Regions from separate parts of the Homo sapiens genome. Here regions 2, 3, 4 and 5 are each linked to region 1. Evidence: promoter capture Hi-C in 16 types of primary human blood cells and fetal thymus (Javierre and others, 2016). All regions are on one chromosome and are shown on one strand. The core of a region is centred on a gene start or on the middle of the fragment in contact, and the rest is flanking DNA. Distances in the headings are between cores, read along the strand shown. Region 1 holds the start of CCNB1IP1 (cyclin B1 interacting protein 1). Region 2 holds the start of RNASE10 (ribonuclease A family member 10 (inactive)). Region 3 has its middle 8.4 kb from the start of RNASE9. Region 4 has its middle 9.6 kb from the start of RNASE9. Region 5 has its middle 15 kb from the start of PNP.

The links. Contacts are between HindIII fragments. The CHiCAGO score rates a contact against its expected background, and 5 or more counts as called.
Region 2: a contact is called between the fragment with the promoter of RNASE10 here and the fragment with the promoter of CCNB1IP1 in region 1, in 2 of 17 cell types (M0 macrophages and M2 macrophages). The highest score is 6.0, in M0 macrophages.
Region 3: a contact is called between a fragment that was not itself captured here and the fragment with the promoter of CCNB1IP1 in region 1, in 1 of 17 cell types (activated CD4 T cells). The highest score is 5.5, in activated CD4 T cells.
Region 4: a fragment that was not itself captured here is called in contact with the fragment with the promoter of CCNB1IP1 in region 1 in 10 of 17 cell types (naive CD8 T cells, activated CD4 T cells, erythroblasts and 7 more); the score reaches 9.4 in naive CD8 T cells.
Region 5: a fragment that was not itself captured here is called in contact with the fragment with the promoter of CCNB1IP1 in region 1 in 2 of 17 cell types (naive CD4 T cells and fetal thymus); the score reaches 5.8 in naive CD4 T cells.

Annotation. Positions count from the first base shown.
Region 1 is chr14:20,331,957-20,334,656 of GRCh38, forward strand. CCNB1IP1 (cyclin B1 interacting protein 1) reads right to left here and starts at 1,323. Exons shown (of 7, transcript NM_021178.5): 1 at 1,298-1,323. RefSeq lists an enhancer at 1,093-1,402. The HindIII fragment of the contact is 11,464 bases long and covers 1-2,700 here.
Region 2 is chr14:20,504,281-20,506,980 of GRCh38, forward strand. RNASE10 (ribonuclease A family member 10 (inactive)) reads left to right here and starts at 1,257. Exons shown (of 2, transcript NM_001386206.3): 1 at 1,257-1,739. The HindIII fragment of the contact is 24,242 bases long and covers 1-2,700 here.
Region 3 is chr14:20,568,077-20,570,776 of GRCh38, forward strand. No RefSeq gene overlaps it. Among named protein-coding and RNA genes, the nearest start is that of RNASE9, 8.4 kb to the left of the region's middle. The HindIII fragment of the contact is 847 bases long and covers 992-1,838 here.
Region 4 is chr14:20,550,096-20,552,795 of GRCh38, forward strand. No RefSeq gene overlaps it. Among named protein-coding and RNA genes, the nearest start is that of RNASE9, 9.6 kb to the right of the region's middle. The HindIII fragment of the contact is 3,221 bases long and covers 1-2,700 here.
Region 5 is chr14:20,482,881-20,485,580 of GRCh38, forward strand. No RefSeq gene overlaps it. Among named protein-coding and RNA genes, the nearest start is that of PNP, 15 kb to the left of the region's middle. The HindIII fragment of the contact is 4,099 bases long and covers 1-2,700 here.

The sequences.
Region 1 (2,700 bases), core at 73-2,572:
TGTGAATGTATTACCTATTCAAAAATATATATATATATGATGTGTATACATATATATATATATATATATATTTTTTTTTTTTTTTTTTTTTTTTTGAGACAGAGTTTCGCTCTTGTTGCCCAGGCTGGAGTGCAATGGCGCGATCTCGGCTCACCGCAACCTCCACCTCCCGGGTTCAAGCGATTCTCCTGCCTCAGCCTCCCGAGTAGCTGGGATTACAGGCATGCGCCGCCATGCCCCAAAAAATAAATTTTAACAATGCTTGAGAATTATAAAAATTATGGGAGGCCTACAAATACCTATTACTACATTCGATTAACTGGTTTATTATTTGTCTTTCTCACACTTTCTGCCTATAAGAATATCCAACACAAACATCACATTAAAATTAACATGTACCAAAAGAAAGGAATTCAGTGAAATGACATTGAAGGTCACTAAGCAAACTTTTTATGAGAAAACAGATATCCAAAATACTTGCTGTAAATAAATAAGTACTGCTTACTTCTAAAGGTACCTAACATTTATTACACACCAACTAGAGCCTAGTTTTTATATATTTTATCTGATCTTGGAAAGCTAAGCCTCGGAATGGCTCACTGCTTCTCCCAAGGTCACCAGAGCTGTAAACTGTGGCGCTGGAATTTAAATCTAGAGGCTTGCCCTGAACTAAGGTCCCTAATCTTTTTCCATAGCTTTTAAGGACACAATCACCACAGTGGCAACATTAAAAATTAGGAGCTCCTTTTAAGGCTTATCTGTCTTCAGAGTTTGCTGCCCAGGTTCACCAAGAAAGCCGAAATGATCTGAGCGAAGGCCAGGAGAAAGACAAGGTACGCTGCAGCTTCCACAAACCCAGTAAGGACCTGGGCCCTCTAGACACTCACCGGAGAATTAAACTCTACTGAGCTGAACGCCTTCTCCCGAAATCTGACCTCACCCAGGGAGATATAAATCAAAACAGCATTAGGATGATAATATCTTTCCCGCCAAGCAAAATGAAGCCGGCGTTTTCCAAGAACACACGCACTGTGCACATGAAGCACAGTCTATTGTTCCTGGGTCACCAGGACTCGGAGACGGAAGGCAAACCCAGTACTGCAGAGGCCCACGTGGAAACAAGCCAGGAAGAGCATTTCACTGCCTTCTCCCAACCTCCACACAGCCGAAATTAATCTCCTTGCGACTCACACACACTCCTATGCCGACTTGAAATAAAGGCCTGCCACCTGGGTATATAACTCAAATGGAAGAGAAATTCAAAACAATTAGAGAGCAAAATTAAGCGCACACTCACCAGCCCACCAAAACGGAGAGGGAAAGAAAGTGGAGAGACAGGAAGTCGCCTTGGGAAGTGTCTTCAGAACCTGATTGGCTAATGAGTTCAAGAGGATTCCCTCCTCCTTTACCTTAAAAGGTGCTGAAATGACGTAACCCACTCCACCCCTCTTTATGGACCAGTGATGCTTCTTGCACTATTTTTGGAGTGAACTTCTTAAACCGAGTTTCCTTTTGAGTTAATGTACTTAGGCAAAAACAGGCTAATTTAAGCTATTTATACACGTTGTTGTTTGCGTGGGCCTACTGCATTCTATTCTAAAGAATTTTCATCCCTTAAGGGTAATTTCTTATCCTTTGTGACCTCAACATGCTTAACTTATGCTAGGCAACAGATTCCATTATAAACAGTCTAGATCGATTCAAGTTAAAATTTACCTTCATTTTTTCCCCCCAGATCCAAAGCTGGCCTGATAAAATTTACCTTCAGGTAATCTTTGAACTAACAGGCTTAGTAGATAAAAGGTAGGTGGGTTAAGTGTTTTAGGCTTCAAATAAAATTTAGCTGATTTTGAATCTGAACCTTGCCACTTATTTGCACACATCTAAGCCTCAGTTCCAACTATAAAAAGAGGGAAAAAAGATGAAATCTTCCTACTCTGATGGTTATGAGGATTAAGTAAAATAATTTATATAATGTACTCAGTACAATGCCCGGTACACAGTACTCAACAATGTTAGCTGTTATTATTGTTATTACATATTTCTTGTTAGATTTATATTCCCAAGTAGACTATAAACAACTGGAGATCAAAGTGTACGTTTTACACATCTCCAGACAAAAACAATGACTTTCAATGCTGAGGACATAATTGATTAATCAATTATTTTGACTCCTCACATCGCCCTCCAGTTAAAGTATAGGTTCTTACTCTGTTAAATTTTTTTTTTTTTTGAAACAGGGTCTCACTTCGTGTCCCAGGCTGGAGTGCAGTGGTGAAATCTCGACTCACTGTAGCCTTGACCTCCCAGGTTCAAGCGATCTCCTGCCTCAGTAAGTAGCTGGGACTACAGGCGTGCACCATCACACCCAGCTAATTTTTGTATTTTTTTGTAGAGATGGGGTTTCGCCATGTTGCCCAAGCTGAAAGATTTCTTTTTAAGCCATAATTAGAGGACTCCCCGGCACAATATTCATCATTATTCTTAATAAATACTATTATAGTAATAGGGAATATATATACAAGTATGTGTTATATGTACAAATATACATGTAATGTGCAAATGTTTGAAGTATAAAGATTCAAGTTATATGGAGAAATGATACAACTCTAACTCATAGTAGTTCTCATTTTTTAATCATTTCATCCTATCCACCCTGCTTCCACCTTACTAGAAATTACCTATTCCAATCCACTTTAG
Region 2 (2,700 bases), core at 7-2,506, 170 kb after region 1:
AAACCCTGGGAGGGAAGAACTTGGGGAACGAGAGGACACAAGAATCTCTGCAGCTGCTTATGCATGTACGTAAGTCACAGAGGTGTTGGGTGCCTCAAGGAACAACATGGAAGTCCTCTCTCTTTTTTAAAATAAATAATTTTTTAATAAATTTTCGAGCACTTTGGGAGGCCGAGGCGGGCGGGTCACGAGGTCGGGAGATCGAGACCATTCTGGCTAACACGGTGAAACCCCGTCTCTACTAAAAAATACAAAAAATTAGCCGGGCGCGGTGGCGGGCGCCTGTAGTCCCAGCTACTTGGGAGGCTGAGGCAGGAGAATGGCGTGAACCTGGGAGGCGGAGCTTGCAGTGAGCCGAGATCGCGCCACCGCACTCCAGCCTGGGCGACAGAGAGAGACTCCGTCTCAAAAAAAAAAAAAAAAAAAGGAATCTGTCATTACAACCTTCTCTCACAAAGAACTCCAGGCGCAGACAGCATCACCACAGCATTCTACCAACCATTTACAGGGAAAGTAATGCACGTCCACAAAACTCTTCCAGAAAGACAAGGGAGCACTCACCAGCTCCTGAGGCCAACGTAGCCTCAGTCCCTAACCCAGCAAGGACAGCAGCGGAGAGGAGCTCACAGGCCAGCCCCCGCCACACGTACACACCACTGCGAGGCTCCAAAGCTCAAGCAGCGTGTATCCAGCGAATACAACAAGAATAATGAAAAAGCGTTATCTGATCAATTGCTAGAGGAGCAGAAGTAACTCTGGCAAACCTCACTGAATGTGAATCCTGAAAGTGCCTTGATCTGCGGTTCTACAAGTTATGGTGCTGGAGGTCTCAGCCAATGCTGTAGGGTAGGACAAAGAAAGAGCTCCAGTGCCAGACAAGAAAAAGTAAAACTCTGATTGATTCACCCATGAAACAGTGTCTGTGTTTAGAAACCCCAAAAGAATATATAGACAAATCATAAGGATGAAAAAGTGAGTTTGCTCCCTCTCCCTCTCCCTCTCCCTCTCCCTCTCCCTCTCCCTCTCCCTCTCCCTCTCCCTCTCCCTCCACGGTCTCCTTCCACGGTCTCCCTCTGATGCCGAGCCAAAGCTGGACGGTACTGCTGCCATCTCGGCTCACTGCAACCTCCCTGCCTGATTCTCCTGCCTCAGCCTGCCGAGGGCCTGCGATTGCAGGCGCGCGCCACCACGCCTGACTGGTTTTCGTACTTTTTTGGTGGAGACGGGGTTTCACTGTGTTGGCCGGGCTGGTCTCCAGCTCCTAACCGCGAGTGATCCGCCAGCCTTGGCCTCCCAAGGTGCCGGGATTGCAGACGGAGTCTGGTTCACTCAGTGCTCAATGGTGCCCAGGCTGGAGTGCAGTGGCGTGATCTCAGCTCGCTACAACCTCCATCTCCCAGCCGCCTGCCTTGGCCTCCCAAAGTGCCGAGATTGCAGCCTCTGCCTGGCCGCCACCCCGTCTGGGAAGTGAGGAGCGTCTCTGCCTGGCCGCCCATCGTCTGGGATACGAGGAGCCTCTCTGCCTGGCTGCCCAGTCTGGAAAGTGAGGAGCGTCTCTGCCCGGCCGCCATCCCATCTAGGAAGCGAGGAGCGCCTCTTCCCCGCCGCCATCCCATCTAGGAAGTGAGGAGCGTCTCTGCCCGGCCGCCCATCGTCTGAGATGTGGGGAGCACCTCTGCCCCGCCGCCCTGTCTGGGATGTGAGGAGCGCCTCTGCTGGGCCGCAACCCTGTCTGGGAGGTGAGGAGCGTCTCTGCCCGGCCGCCCCGTCTGAGAAGTGAGGAAACCCTCTGCCTGGCAACCGCCCCGTCTGAGAAGTGAGGAGCCCCTCCGTCCGGCAGCCACCCCGTCTGGGAAGTGAGGAGCGTCTCCGCCCGGCAGCCACCCCGTCCGGGAGGGAGGTGGGGGGGGGTCAGCCCCCCGCCCGGCCAGCCGCCCCGTCCGGGAGGTGAGGGGCTCCTCTGCCCGGCCGCCCCTACTGGGAAGTGAGGAGCCCATCTGCCCGGCCAGCCGCCCCGTCCGGGAGGGAGGTGGGGGGGGTCAGCCCCCCGCCCGGCCAGCCGCCCAGTCCGGGAGGTGAGGGGCGCCTCTGCCCGGCCGCCCCTACTGGGAAGTGAGGAGCCCCTCTGCCCGGCCAGCCGTCCCGTCCGGGAGGGGGGAGGGGGGGTCAGCCCCCTGCCCGGCCAGCCGCCCCGTCCGGGAGGGAGGTGGTGGGGGTCAGCCCCCCGCCCGGCCAGCCGCCCTATCCAGGAGGTGAGGGGCGCCTCTGCCCGGCCGCCCCTACTGGGAAGTGAGGAGCCCCTCTGCCCGGCCAGCCGCCCAGTCCGGGAGGGAGGTGGGGGGATCAGCCCCCCGCCTGGCCAGCCGCCCAGTCCAGGAGGGAGGTGGGGGGTCAGCCCCCCGCCCGGCCAGCCGCCCCGTCCGGGAGGGAGGTGGGGGGGTCAGCCCCCCGCCCGGCCAGCCGCCCCGTCCGGGAGGGAGGTGGGGGGGGTCAGCCCCCCGCCCGGCCAGCCGCCCCGTCCGGGAGGGAGGTGGGGGGATCAGCCCCCCGCCTGGCCAGCCGCCCCGTCCGGGAGGTGAGGGGCGCCTCTGCCCGGCCGCCCCTACTGGGAAGTGAGGAGCCCCTCTGCCTGGCCAGCCGCCCCGTCCGGGAGGGGGGAGGGGGGGTCAGCCCCCCGCCCGGCCAGCCGCCCCGTCCGGG
Region 3 (2,700 bases), core at 165-2,664, 240 kb after region 1:
TGACTCTATATATAATACCTTTGACTGTATGTGGAGAGCCAAGGAACATGATGAAGCTGTTAGTTGCTCCTAAGTTCAGTGGATAAAGTGATGAAAGAAAATTATGAACTCAAGGATTCTGTCTCTCAGCTTCAGAAGCAGATACTGAGCCTCAAATCTACTAAGATTGCTTTGAGTGAGAGTCTTATCTCCTGTAGAAAAAGAGGTGAAATTGTGAAAAAACAGACACAGACTTTTATCATGCGAGTGGCTGAACTGCCACAAAAGGGGCATGCACAGCCTTACCAGGTGTCTACTGTTAAAGTGAGGGCATTGGCTGGAATGGGACCCTGCAACTTGGAATGAGGACGTGTGGGAGGACCCTGATGAAGCTGGGGACACTGAGTTTGTAAACGCTGATGAACCATTTTTGCCAGAAGATACAGCTTTCTCATCCCCAGTAGTGGCAACATCCCCTCCCCAACCCATGCTGCTATCAGCCTTTCCACCTTTGTCTGAGGAGATAAACCCTGTGCTGTCTGAGGCAACACTGATGGCCCCCCATGAGGCAGTTGCCAGTCAAAATAATGTTGATTCTCCTCAGGAGCCACCCCTAACACTCCTATCTGCTTCTAGACCTGTAACTAGACTAAAGTCCCAGTGGGCCCCTAGAGGTGAGGTTCAGAGTGCGACCCATGAGGAGGTATGCTACACTTGAAAAGAACTGCTTGAGTTCTCTAATTTATATAAACGGCAGCCTGGAGGGAATGGGAACGGATATTAAGGGTATGGGATAATGGTGGAAGGAACATAGAGCTGGATCAGGCTGAATTTATTGATTTGGGCCCACTAAGTAGAGACTGTGCATTTAACATTGCAGCTCAGGGAGTTAAAAAGGGTTCTAATAGTTTATTTACTTGGTTAGCTGAAATACAGTTTAAAAGATGGCCCACTGCAAGCAAGCTGGAAATGCCTGATCTCCCTTGGTTTAATGTAGAGGAAGGGATCCAAAAGCTTAGGGAGATTGGGATGGTGCAGTGGATTCATCACTTTAGACCTACTCATCCCAGCTTGGAGGGTCCAGAAGATATACCCTTGACCAATGTCTTGCAAAATAGATTTGTAATGGCAGCATCTGCATCTTTGAAGAGCCCTGTACTTGCTCTTCTCTGCATGTCAGGTCTAACAGTGGGAACCACAGTCACTCAACTACAAAATTTAAATACAGTGGGAATGATTGGATCCTGAGGTGGCAGAGGCCAAGTCATTACATTACTGACAATTTATGCAGTGAATCTTTCTCCTATCTTTCCCCAAGGAGACCTCCAGCCTTCTACCAGGGTAACTGTACACTGGGAAAGGGAAATGATCAGGCATTTTGGGGACTACTGGACACAGGGTCTGAGCTGATGTTGATTCCAGGAGACCCAAAACGTCACTGTGGTCCTCTAGTTAAAGTAGGGGCTTATGGAGGTGAGGTAATTAATGGAGTTTTAGCTCAGGTCCCACTTACAATGGGTCCCCGGACTCATCCTACGGTCATTTCCTTAGTGCCAAAATGTGTAATTGGCATAGACATACTTAGCAGCTGGGAGAACACCACATTGGCTCCCTGACTGGTAGGGTGAGGACTATTATGGTGGGAAAGGCCAAATGGAAGCCATTAGAGCTGCCTCTACCTAGAAAAATAGTAAATAAACAACAATATCATATTCCTGGAGGGATTACAGAGATTAGTGCCACCTTCAAGGAATGGAAAGATGCAGGGGTGAGGATTCCCAACACATCCCCATTCAACTCTCTCATTTGGCCTGTGCAGAAGACAGATGGATCTTGAAGAATGACAGTGGATTATCGTAAGCTTAACCAAGTGGTGAGTCCAATTGCAGCTGCTGTACCAGATGTGGTTTTATTGCTTGAGCAAATTAACACATCTCCTGATACCTGGTATGCAGCCATTGACTTGGCAAATGCCTTTTTCTCCATTCCTGTCCATAAGGCCCAACAGAAGCAATTTGCCTTCAGCTGGCAAGGCCAGCAATATACCTTTACTGTCCTACCTCAGGGGTATATCAGCTCTCTGGCTTTGTGTCATAATCTTATTCGAAGAGACCTTGATGGCTTTTTGCTTCTGCAAAATATCACACTGCTGGTCCATTATGTTGATGACATTATGCTGATTGGATCCAGTGAGCAAGAAGTAGCAAATGCACTGGACTTATTGGTGAGACATTTGCATGCCAGAGGATGGGAAATAAATCTGACTAAAATTCAGGGAACTTCTACCTCAGTAAAATTTCTAGGGGTCCAGTGGTGTGCAGCCTGTCAAGATAGTCCTTCTAAGGTGAAGGATAAGTTGCTTCATTTGGCCCCTCCTGCAACCAAGAAAGAAGCACGATGCCTAGTGGGCCTATTTGGATTTTGGAGGCAGCACATTCCTCATTTGGGTGTGTTACTCCAGCCCATTTGTTGAGTGACCCCAAATGCTGCCAGTTTAGAGCAGAATAGGAGAAGGCCCTGCAACATGTCCAGGCTGCTGTGCAAGCTGCTCTGCCACTTGGGCCATATGACCCAGCAGATCTAATGGTGCTTGAGGTGTCAGTGGTAGATAGGGATGCTGTTTGGAACCTTTGACAGGTCCCATATGTTAATCACAGTGGAGGCCTCTAGGATTTTGGAGCAAGGCCCTGCCATCTTCTGCAGATAACTACTCTTCTTTTG
Region 4 (2,700 bases), core at 180-2,679, 220 kb after region 1:
ACAGAAAGGGGCAGGAGGTATGAAAGGGCAGACATTGGGTAACACTCACTATTGCCTTAGTTCCCAGGTACTAGCAGTGCCCCTTTACTGACCTTACTCTTCTTCCTGTTGTAAACACCTCCTTAGAGTTCTTTTCATGTCCAACCCTTGGTCATCTTCCATCCTGCCTCTCAAGCAGGGTAAAATCCCTCATTCTCTTACTCTTATTTTCTCCTGAAATTCCTCCCTTTCATATTCTTAATGTTCCCTCCTCCTTAGAAGCCCACTCTCTATTTTGATGTTTGCTGCACAGGTTCCTAGACCAATATGGAAAATCCAAAAATGTGCTGCTCTCCCCTTTGTTGATCTCTCACCTGAACAATGAACACAGTGCATGCTGTGGAATATGGGTAAAAAATTAGTTCATCAAAATGTTTATATAATTGAAAATTCTGTATTATATGTAATGTATTTGTTCATTTAAAAATACTTATTGAATATTAAGTGGCAGGCATTAGGCATTGAGGATAGAAAAGAATGAGAGAATGCTTGAAATACTATGCATTTCGTTATGGAAATACTAGGGCATTATTACACTAGGGTGTATATTGAAGTGGTGAGTTGCTTGTACCCACTTGTAATGAACATATTTTAAAAAGAGAAGGAAGAAAATCTTTGACAATGGAATAATGTCAAATATTTGAATATTTTGAATTAAGTAAGGCAGCACATTTGTGTATATACCCATCACTGCGAATGTTCTTGTTCACTTGAAGTTATAATCTAGTAGCTGGAAAACATGTCAGTGTCATCATTCTATCTTATGGGAAATGCCCCTGAATTCAAAATCTCACTTGGTTAAAGACTAATTTACCTTCAGTTTGATAGGACTCGAAGCACGCTCCAAAGGCTCCAGGTATCTCCTTTGATCTTTCAAGAAGAACTTGATATTGATGACTAGCTCTTGTAATCTTTCAACTATGGAAACTTAGGTGGAATATTTCTTCTTGTATTCAATGCAAATTATGCAATGAATGCATCAGATGTGATGAGGAAGGGATGAGCCACTGCTTCCTTGTGTTTCTAAAAATATGACAGTTCACAAATGTCATGATCTTATGTCAGAGACATGTGAGAAAGATCCATCTTAGAGAAAGAGAAGAAAGATTGGGATAAAATATGTGATTTCATTTTTTAATCCTTATTTGTTGTGTGACAGGAAAAATAGGAAACAGTGGACAGAGAATATGATCCCCTTACTTGTGACACAAGAGGTAATGATGAACAGTGAAAGGGTATATAAAAACACTTCGAAAATTTTATATTATAGAGAAGATACTGTGTGAGGTATTGTGACTGCTACAATATATACATATATATATATATGAATAAAAGTTATTGGCTCTGAATTTATCAGGAATATTAATTCAACTTTGTACCAAAATATTACAGGGCAAATGAATAGGGTTCAATTTAGCATCACCAATTTTCAAGGAGCAGCACAGGGATAGTTAGTAGCTTTGGTTTTATTCTTTTCCTAATGTCATCTAAGAATATCGTGCTAGAATAGAAAGGTGTGAATGGTTAAATTAGGTGTCAGCTTGATTGGGTTGAAGGATGCCTAGATGGCTGGTGAAGCACTGTTCCTGGGGGTGTCTGTGGGGGTGTTTCCAGAGGAGATTGGCAGGTGAGGCAGTTTCCAGAGGAGACTGGCAGGTGAGACTGAGAGAGGAAGACCTGCCCTCAATGTGGGCAGGCACCATTCAATTGACTGCTTGCTCCCCACAACCTTCCCACCCTGTGGCAGCTCTGAGGCCTTCAGCCTCAGACCAGCTTCTCTAACAACCTTGCTTGCTACCAGCTTCTGTCATTCTCTAGCTTGCATATGGCCTGTCGGCCTATTGTGGGACTTCGCTTTTAATCATGTGAGCCAATTCTCCCTAAAAAATTCCCTTACGTATACCTATCCTATTGATGCTGTTCCCCTGGAGAATCCTGTCAACTAAAGAAAAAAAAGATCCAACTTTTAAATAATTAAAATTAGTTTTATTCAGAAGTCTTACTGAGGTCTACAGGCTGGGAGGCCTATAGCCCAGGAGCAGCCCTTTAGAGGGGTTCTATTAGATGGCTCCCATGCAGTATTTTAGTTGACAATTTACAGGTGGTAAAGATTCAGTATATGTGAAATCACATCAAATTTGCTCAGAAGTTACATTAAAGCAGAATCACATCAAGGTTTGGGTGTAAGAGTACATCTGGTTATAGATTACAGGAGTATAATCACTAACCTGGTCAGACCTTATTTTATGCGTAAGAAAACGCAAGGACTGGTGTAATTTATCTTTAGGAATATAGTGAGTCAGGTAAACAGACACGGAGCATGGGGACCGTGCACTCTATTCTGTGGTATCTTCAAACATTCTTCTCAAAGAGCTGCAGGTTGTCATAGAGTGAGGGGCTTTGTGAAATTATGCTGGCAAGCAGAAATGAGCAAAAATGGCATTTACTACTTTGTCTCGCAACTTCCACTAACACAAAGGGACGGGAGCAACTGTGCTGTCTGTTCATTGGGCTAGACTTTTCTCCTATTTACTTAATCAATAACATCATAGACATCAGAAATTTTCAAAGAGAATACCAATTGGGTTTATTCTGGTTAGGAAACAAAATGCTGTGTTTATAGTTTTTCTTACTCTTGGGAATGCTTTGCCTACATTCTTT
Region 5 (2,700 bases), core at 27-2,526, 150 kb after region 1:
AAACTGATCCCTGCTTCAGTTCCACAATACCGAGTTCAGGAATGTTCTCAGACCAGGATATACTGTCTGAGAGAGATGCCTTAGAGAACCAAACTGTTCTCTAAGACCGGGCAATAGTGCTGTCATTATATAACCCTTACACACATGAGATACCTCTGCCCAAGGAGGGGCTCTAGGCAGATTCACACTTGTTTATGAGCACAGATAGGCTGGACCAAGAGAGACTAAATTTCTGCAGAGTCTTCTCACCCATTTAGGAGTTTTCAGTAATAACGCACACACTTTTAGTGAAGATGTTGGAGTGAAGATATGCTTCTGTCTGAATTGGAAAATGTGTTCACTTTTTTGACTGAGCTGAATTTATGCTGTGCTCTTTGGATAAATAACCTTGTTTGATTTATTCAAGTGACATTGTGTCAGGTCTTGCTATCAATCTGCACCTAGTATTGACATTTGTAAATGTAATGGCCATTCAGTTTCTAGATAACCATAACATTTACTTGACAACTCTGTATTGCGCTTACGCTCATTCATTTTTTTTTCTGCATTTGCTTTGAACTTTGTCCTTTTGATAATCAGATGTATTAAGCCTCATATAGAAATGCCAGGATGTGTGTGTGTGTGTGTGTGTGCATATACATCTGCAAACATATGTGTACATATATACATGTATGCAAAATCCAAAATTGACAACTTATAAACTGTCATCTGCCCATGCAAACTTGAAGAAGCTGAGCTTTTCAGCTTTTCAATATCCCAGACAGGGCACCTATCAAGTGTATCTTTCTAGGCTGCTGAACAAGAAGAGATGAACACATGAGAAGGATATGTTTATTTACTTACTCAACAAACGTTCTAGGGGTTAGGGATATGGAGAAGAACAAGACAATGTTTCTGCCTTCATGGTATTTACATTAAATTAGGGGAGTGCGACAACCAATAAACAGAAATGTTTTTAAAAACCTAAGGTAATAATAAGTGTTAAGAAAAAAATAAAGAGGATAGAAGGTAATAGAGGAAGGAAAGGCAAATTAAAACTACAATGAGATACCACTTCACACTCACTAAAATGACTATAATAAATAAGACACACATTAACAAATGTTGGTAAGGACGCAGAAAAACAAGAATCTTTTTAAATTGTGGAATTTCCACTTTCTGGTGGAAATGTAAAATAGTGTAGCCAGTTGGAAAACAGTTTGTCAGTTTCTCAGAAGGCAAAGCACAAAACTACCATATGACCCATCATTTCTACTTGTAGCTGTTTACCTAAGAGAATTAAGATCATAACCACACAAACACACACAAATGTCCACAGCAACTTTTAAAATAATAAGGACTGGAAACATCCCAAATGCCCATCAACTGGTAAATGGATTGTTTAAAAAATGTATATCTAGGCTGGGTGTGGTGGCTTGTGCCTGTTATCCCAGCACTTTGGGAGGCTGGGGCGGGTGGATGACTTGAGGCCAGGAGTACAAGACCAGCCTGGCCAACATAGCAAAACCCTGTCTCTACTAAAAATAAAAAATTAGCCAGGCATGGTGGCATGCACCTGTAATCCCAGCTACTCTGGGGCCGAAGCATGAGAATCACTTGAACCAGGGAGATGGAGGCTGCAGTGAGCTGAGATCATGCCACTGCACTCCAGCCTGGGCAATAGAACGAGACTCCTGTCTTAAAAAAAAAAAGAGAGAAAGAAAAAATGTAAATCTATACAATGGTATACTATTCATTAATAAAAAAGAACAAACTACTGACACATGCTATGTCATGGGTGAACCTCAAAAACATGCTAAATAAAATAATCCAGATACAAATCTGTATTATGTGATTCTATTTATATGAAATATCCAGAAAAATTTCTAGAGACAGAAAGTAGATTAATGGTTTTCTGGGGCTTAGTGTTGAGATGGGGATTAATATAATGGGCATAGAGATCTTATTTAAGGGATAAAAATGTTCCAAAACTGATCTACGTGATTGTTGCAACACTAAATAAAATGATAACAATCATTGAATTTTGCACTTGAAACGAGTGAGTTTTATGATACGTGAAATACAGCTCACTAAGGCTGTTCTGTTTGTTTGTTTGGTTGGTTGGTTGGTTTTTTTTTGAGATGGAATTTTGCTTTCGTTGCCCAGGCCGGAGTGCAATGGCGCTATCTCTGCTCACCGCAACCTCCGCCTCCTGGGTTTGAGCGGTTCTCCTGCCTCAGCCTCCCAAGTAGCTGGGATTACAAGCATGCACCACCATGCCTGGCTAATTTTGTAGTTTTAGTAGAGACAGGGTTTCTCCGTGTTGGTCAGGCTGGTGTTCAACTCCCGACCTTAGGTGATACACCCCCTTGGCCTCCCAAAGTGCTGGGATTACAGGCGTGAGCCACTGCGCCCAGCCAAGGCAGTTTTTTTTAAAAAAAAAGTGATAAAAGGGTGAGTGATTTCAAATAGGTTGGTTCAGGGAAGGCCTCTCCAAGGAGCTGTCAGTTGAGCAGAGACCTGAGTAAATGAGGGCGTGAATGATGCAGTGATTAGAGATGAGTGTGCAAGCAAACATACAAGTTCTTAGGGAACTTAACAATTTAGCAGTAACAGAAGGCCAGTGCTATTAGAGTAGACTGAACAAGGGGAATGGTGATGGTAGATAAGGCTGGAGATGAAGGCAGGTGTTGTAGGTCATGATAAGTTTAGGTTTTATTT